2 separate regions of the Homo sapiens genome follow, and region 2 is linked to region 1. Evidence: promoter capture Hi-C in 16 types of primary human blood cells and fetal thymus (Javierre and others, 2016). All regions are on one chromosome and are shown on one strand. Each heading gives the region's core, a stretch centred on a gene start or on the middle of the fragment in contact. The rest is flanking DNA. Distances are from core to core; before and after follow the strand shown.

Region 1 (3,056 bases), core at 155-2,654:
CAGGGTGGTATAGAGGACACAGATGGTGGACACGGGGATGGCGAAGCCCAGCACGAGCGTGTAGAGGCGGCTCGCGCGCCACCAGAAGGCCTCGGGCTGCGGAAAGACTAGCACGCACTGGCGCCGGCCCTGCTCGTCGTCTAGCCGGGCGAAGACTGCGAAGGGCAGCACGACGAGTGTGACGATCCCCCACACGGCCAGGCTCACCGCGCGCGCGGCGCTGTAGGTGCGGCCGGCCACCCGGCGCGACTCCGCAGTGGCCAACACCACCAGGTAGCGGTCGGCGCTCATGACGGTGAGGAAGTAGAGGCTGGAGAAGGTGTTGTACTGGTCGATAGCCACGATGAGCTTGCACATGAGCTCCCCGAAGGGCCACTGCCGCAGCAGGAAGTCGGCGATGTTGATGGGCAGCACCAGCGTGAAGAGCTCGTCGGCGATGGCCAGGTTGAGGATGAACAGGTTGGTGACGGTCTTCATGCGGGGCGCCCGCAGCAACACGTACAGCACGGCGGAGTTGCCCGCCAGACCCACGGCGCAGATCACCGCGTAGACAACTGGTACAGCCACCGCCAGCGGCGCCGGCAGCGGCGCCAGAGTCGACGCGTTGGAGCAGCTCAGCGCCGGGTCCGGGCCCGATGCGTTGGCGGGCCAGGGCTCCGAGAACGAGGCGTTGTCCATCTCAACGAGGGCAGAGGAGCCGGCGACCTGGCGTCCCCCAAGGACGCCCTACGGAGCTCAGCGGTCCTGAAGCCCGGTTCTGCACGGACCTGCTCGCGGACGCTCGTTTCAGCTCTCCAAGCCGTTCTCTGGTTTTTCCGGAGGAGGGGACCGTTCCCAGCCACCCCACGGCCCAATGTCGCCGCGGACTCACGGGGCTGGAAAGAGGAATTTAAAGCATAGGTTAGTTCGTCGACGTGTAACTTTAGAAATAGGCGCGGTCCCGAGGAGGGGTGGGGGTGGCGCCGCGGCGCCCCAAACCTCCTCCACGTGAGCGCTCTCTGCTACCTGTTGAAATCTCACTTCTACCAGTTGAATACATCAAACGAAATGCTAGAGAGAGAAGAATCCTCCATAGGAAAAATGCAAACCCTTCTCCCCTCTTTCAGGAAACTTCCGTAGACCCAGGTTACCCCACAGAATCCCGCAGTGGCAAGCTTCGGTCTCCCCAGGGTCTGTGCGCCCTCAGTAACAGCAAGCTCAACAGCAGTCTTTACCTTACCTGGCTGGCTGGGGAAGGGGTCTGCCTTTCCTGGAGCTGTCAGGAGAAAAGCCCGCCGGCTGCGGGGAGGCTGAGACGCCTGCCGGCTGGGTGTCCGCCTCCCCCTGTCTGCCTCCCCCGAGTTCGCCAGAGTCCGCAGCTCGCGTCCCCGCCGGTCCCTCCCGCGCGCCTGGAAGTGCAGGGATGGCGCAGCCGCGACTGCGTTCCACTGCCCTGACCGCCGCGCCCACCCCCACACCCCAAGTAAAATGGTCTTAGAACAGAGAACAGAAATTCCCCCAAATTTAAGGGATTCCTTTCTTCCATCCCAGTCGTGCAACCTCACTCCATCTGAAATAATAGAAAGCTCTCCTGTTAAGAATCGAATTTAAGGAAAACAAAGTTAGGGTGTAAGTGATCTATTTTTAAAGGAGAACAATGTAGTGGAGGCGCCTGTTCCATTTTTTATACACCGTAACACAAATAGGCTAATGTAATGTGAAATCTGAAAGGAGGAAAAAGTGAGTGCAATTTTATAATGCAAATCACCTGTTTTCTGCTACTCTGGTCTTCAAGGGGATAGAAGATTGTTAGTATGTTTTCTAAAACTACTTCTACTTCTACTTTTGTGTAAGTAAAGACTTGATTAGTAAAGACAAACGGCTTCCGCAAAGCCTTTTAGGGAACCATGACAATGCGTATTTCATAAAACGTTACAAGTTGTTCAACACACTCTCTACTTATCCACACACTTGCCCGATTCTCCTGCTAATGAGAGCTATCCTGCGATCGCAGCGGAGAGTAGCCAAGGAAGGACTAGCAGGGGCAGTCTTGAACTCCCCTGTCGCTATTTCCCTGGACTTTGGATTCTTTCTCTAGGAAGGGAAAATCATCTTAGGCTCCTCACCAGTTCCCCTAAGAATCGAATGAAATAAACTAAATATTGGTTATTTCCAATTTCTGCTTTTTTTTTTTCTCCACATTTCCTTTAGGAGAGAGAGCAAATTAAAACACGAGATTATATCCTCTAGTAAACTACCCTTCCACAAAAGCAGGCGAAGCCCAAATAAAGTGTATTTTTGGTCCTCTAGGATGCATCTTAGAGAAGGGGGCCTGAGATCCAGAGAGACCTAAAGTCGGCAGTAGAAGACTGTGGGGCCAGAAATACAGTAGCCCCCCCATACCTATGGGGGATAGGTTCCAAGAGCCCCAGTGGATGCCTGAAACCATGGATAGTACCCATTGCGGTCAATGGGAACATGTTTCTGTTCTTCCATCCAAAAATGATGCAACAGCAAAACTAGCATGCATTTCTTTTTTCTTCTTCACATTTTCGTGGATAGATTTGTTTTTAGTAGATCTTGGCAACCTCTGCATATGATTTTTTTTCTTTCCTTATTAAGTCCAGAATTTTTACCTTTTAACTTAAAGGAGGCATTTGCAGCTTCTCTTTGGCATATCTGAATTGCCAGCATCACTTCTCTTGCACTTTGGAGCCAGAGAGAAATAAGGGCAAAAAGTCAGTAAAATCAAGGCAACTTGAAGACACCACACTGGTCATTGCCACAGTCATCTAATAACCCAGATTGTGAAGTGACTAACAGGTGGATATTGTAGACAGCAGGGAAACGCTGGGCAAAGGGAGGACTCACTTTCTGTGGGAAGGAGTAAGATGGCTGGATCTCATCACGCCAATCAGAAGTCAACACAATTGAAAACCTAGGAACTGTTTATTCCTGGAATTTTCTGTTTAATATTTTTAGACCACAGTTGACCACGAGTAACTGAAACTAGGGACTCCAAAACCACTGACAGGGGGATCCACTGTCCAAAAGCTCCCTGGAATTTACCTACTCAA
Region 2 (3,056 bases), core at 181-2,680, 180 kb after region 1:
ATGGGTGCAAAATCTTGATAATTGTGGAACTAGGGTCAGGGTCAGGGATATATGGCTATACATTGTAGTTTTCGCTTTATTTTTGTATATGTTTTTTGGTGTTTGTTTGTTTGTTTGTTTTTTGAGACGGAGTCTTACTGTATCACCCAGGCTGGAGTGCAGTGGAGCGATCTTGGCTCACTGCAACCTCCGCCTCCCAGGTTGAAGCAAATCTCCTGCCTCACCCTCCTGAGTAGCTGAGATTACAGGTGGGTGCCACCATGCCTGGCTAATTTTTCTATTTTTAGTAGACGGGGTTTCATCATGTTGGCCAGGCTGGTCTTGAACTCCTGGGCTCAAGTGATCTGCCTGCCTCAGCCTCCCAAAGTGCTGGGATTACAGGCATGAGCCACCGCACCCGGCCTGTATATGCTTTTAGGTTTCATTAAAACAGTTTTAAACAATAGCATTAGAAAAGTTTTTCAGGCCACAGTCATGCTGTCTCTTTGCAATTGCTTTTGTCAATCTACATGTCAAACAGAGCTCTCTTTTTCAAAAAAAAAGGTATTTATTTAGGAATATGGCATTGTGATAGTAATACATGTGCCATAGTAAACCATGATAAACTATGTGCATATTCCCACTGCAATGCCCTATTCAGGAATAAATAGTATTTTTTTTTTTTCTGAGACAGAGTTTCGCTCTTGTTGCCCAGGCTGGAGTTCAATGGTGCGATCTCGGCTCACTGCAACCTCTGCCTCCTGGGTTCAAGTGATTCTCCTGCCTCGGCCTCCCGAGTAGCTGGGATTACAGGCATGCACCACCATGCCCAGCTAATTTTGTATTTTTAGTGGAGACGGGGTTTCTCCATGTTGGTCAGGCTGGTCTCGAACTGACCTCAGGTGATCAGCCTGCCTCGGCCTCCCAAAGTGCTGGGATTACAGGAGTGAGCCACCATGCCCAACCAATAGTATTTATTTTAGAGATCCTTCTCTGTTTATTTGGGTAGTCTGAAATGGTGCCCAGAAGCAGACCTGGGACAAGATCACTTTCTGAAGGAATCAACAACTCTTAGAACCAGTGTGCAGTACTCACTTGAGCCATTTGAGCTCTCTGCTTCCACAGCTTACTTTCTCTTCTTTGGTGAGTCTTTTGTCAGGCAAAGTCTCCCTCATTTTGAGTTTTTTTTTTTTTTTTTTTACTTTATTCAGGATTTATTTTGGTTATAAGGCCATCTTCAATAAAGGACATTACATCCCTTCTGGTATAATAAAATACTTTTTGTCTCTTCTGCCAAGTCTTTTTTGGTATAAAGACAAGTGTCCTGGTTTGAGTACTCTGGTTTCTACAAAATTTATGTTCTGTCACTGAGGCATGTCTTTTCTGGTGAATTTGCCTTCGAGGTTTAGTTTGTTTGTTTGTTTTACTTTTTATTATTTCTGCATGACTCATTTAACATTTTATTTGATCTGCACAACCTGGGTTAAAATTTTTGTGAGCACTTTGATTTTGGTTTGGTTGTATGTGTCTGTAAGTAATTTGGCTCTTCTTCCTTGCTTGTATCCAAAAATCTTCCAAGAGCAAAAGTAAACAAAAATAGTGTGAGCAGGGTGGCTAAACTACCACTAGGGTGGCTGCCACTGTCTAAACACTGAACTAAACTCCTGGCATTCTCTGACAGAATTTATAGGATTGTCTTAGCTCTTGAGAGATTAATAAGAAACAGAATGGGATTCCCAAACATTAAAGCATGCCAAGTTCTCTGGACTCCAGCTGGTTACATATTATGGCCCATTCTTGTGTACATTTTAAAATCAATGGGCAAATTACATCAAGAAAAATTCAGAGATTTAATGGTCCTGATTGGAACTCTAAAAAACCTGCAATGATAAGAGTTACCATATAGAGCTAAGTTCTCTATCACTCTTTTTTCTCTGCCTACTTTGAATCTGCTGATTTTTTTCGCTGATGTTGAGATAAAACTCACTGTTTATGGCATTCCATCAAAGATTAAATTTTTCTAAAAAAGCTGTAAAAATTGTTAATGCTTCCCTACCTGCAGTGACTAGTCAAGCCAATGAAACCAGCAAACAAAAGATAGATTTGTTACTAAAAATTCAAGGCTATTGGAGATTTTGTTTTTCTTATACAGTTAAGCCAGCCAGTCCTAGCAAAACTTATTTGAAACTAAAAAAATAAAAAGGGGGTGGTGGTAAAGGAAATGTTTGCTTTATTTTATATATTTTATTTTATGTTTATTTTTATTTTTTTGAGATGGAGTCTCGCTCTGTTGCCCAGGCTGGAGTGTAATGGCGTGATCTTGGCTCACTGCAACCTCCGTCTCCCAGGTTCAAGGGATTCTCCTGCCTCAGCTTCCCGAGTAGCTGGGATTACAAGCACCCGCCATCAAGCCCAGCTAATTGTTGTATTTTTAGTAGAAACAGGGTTTCACCATGCTGGCCAGGCTGGTCTCGAACTCCTGCCTCGGCCTCCCAAAGTGCTGGGATTACAAGTGTGAGCCACTGCGCCAGGCTATTTTATATATTTTAGAGACAAGGTCCCACTCTGTCACCCTGGTTGCAGTGCAATGGCACCTTCTTAGCTCACTGCACCGTTGAACTCCTGAGCTCAAGGGATCCTTCTGCCTCAGCTAGGACTATAGGCATGTTGCATCATGCCCAGTTAATTAAAAAAAAAATTATAGAGATGGGAGTCTCACTATGTTGCCTAGACTGGTCTTGAATTGCTGGCCTCAAGCAATCCTCCTGTCTTGGCCTCCCAAAGTGCTGAGATTATAGGGATTACCACACCACACCTGACCAAAATGTTTTTAAAACCAAACTTCTTTACCAGAAATTTTGGTTCACAGCTTTTATTAGATTATCTATTGAGGCAAATAAAGTTTTAGCTATGTGAACATGTCCTATTCTGTCAGAAATATAATTTGGAAACAACTGTCTTTTGTAAACCAGTGAGTTCACATGTTTTACTGTCTCAAAATTCTAAAATGAAACCTATAAAATCTTTGTTTGTATGTTTTATATGTCTAGGTTTATTTATGAATATGTACCTGTCTT

The links. The method cuts DNA at HindIII sites, captures the fragments that hold promoters and counts their contacts. A CHiCAGO score of 5 or more calls a contact.
Region 2: a fragment that was not itself captured here is called in contact with the fragment with the promoter of NPBWR1 in region 1 in 3 of 17 cell types (total CD8 T cells, non-activated CD4 T cells and naive CD8 T cells); the score reaches 7.8 in total CD8 T cells.

The regions. Positions count from the first base shown.
Region 1 is chr8:52,937,530-52,940,585 of GRCh38, reverse strand. It overlaps NPBWR1 (neuropeptides B and W receptor 1), which reads right to left and starts at 1,404. Exons shown (of 2, transcript NM_005285.5): 1 at 1,220-1,404; 2 at 1-875. The coding sequence starts at 678. RefSeq lists enhancers at 1-597, 598-1,229. The HindIII fragment of the contact is 12,259 bases long and covers 1,157-3,056 here.
Region 2 is chr8:52,752,806-52,755,861 of GRCh38, reverse strand. The region is part of intron 2 of LOC105375835 (a long non-coding RNA gene); the gene reads right to left. Among named protein-coding and RNA genes, the nearest start is that of RB1CC1, 40 kb to the right of the region's middle. The HindIII fragment of the contact is 4,878 bases long and covers 1-3,056 here.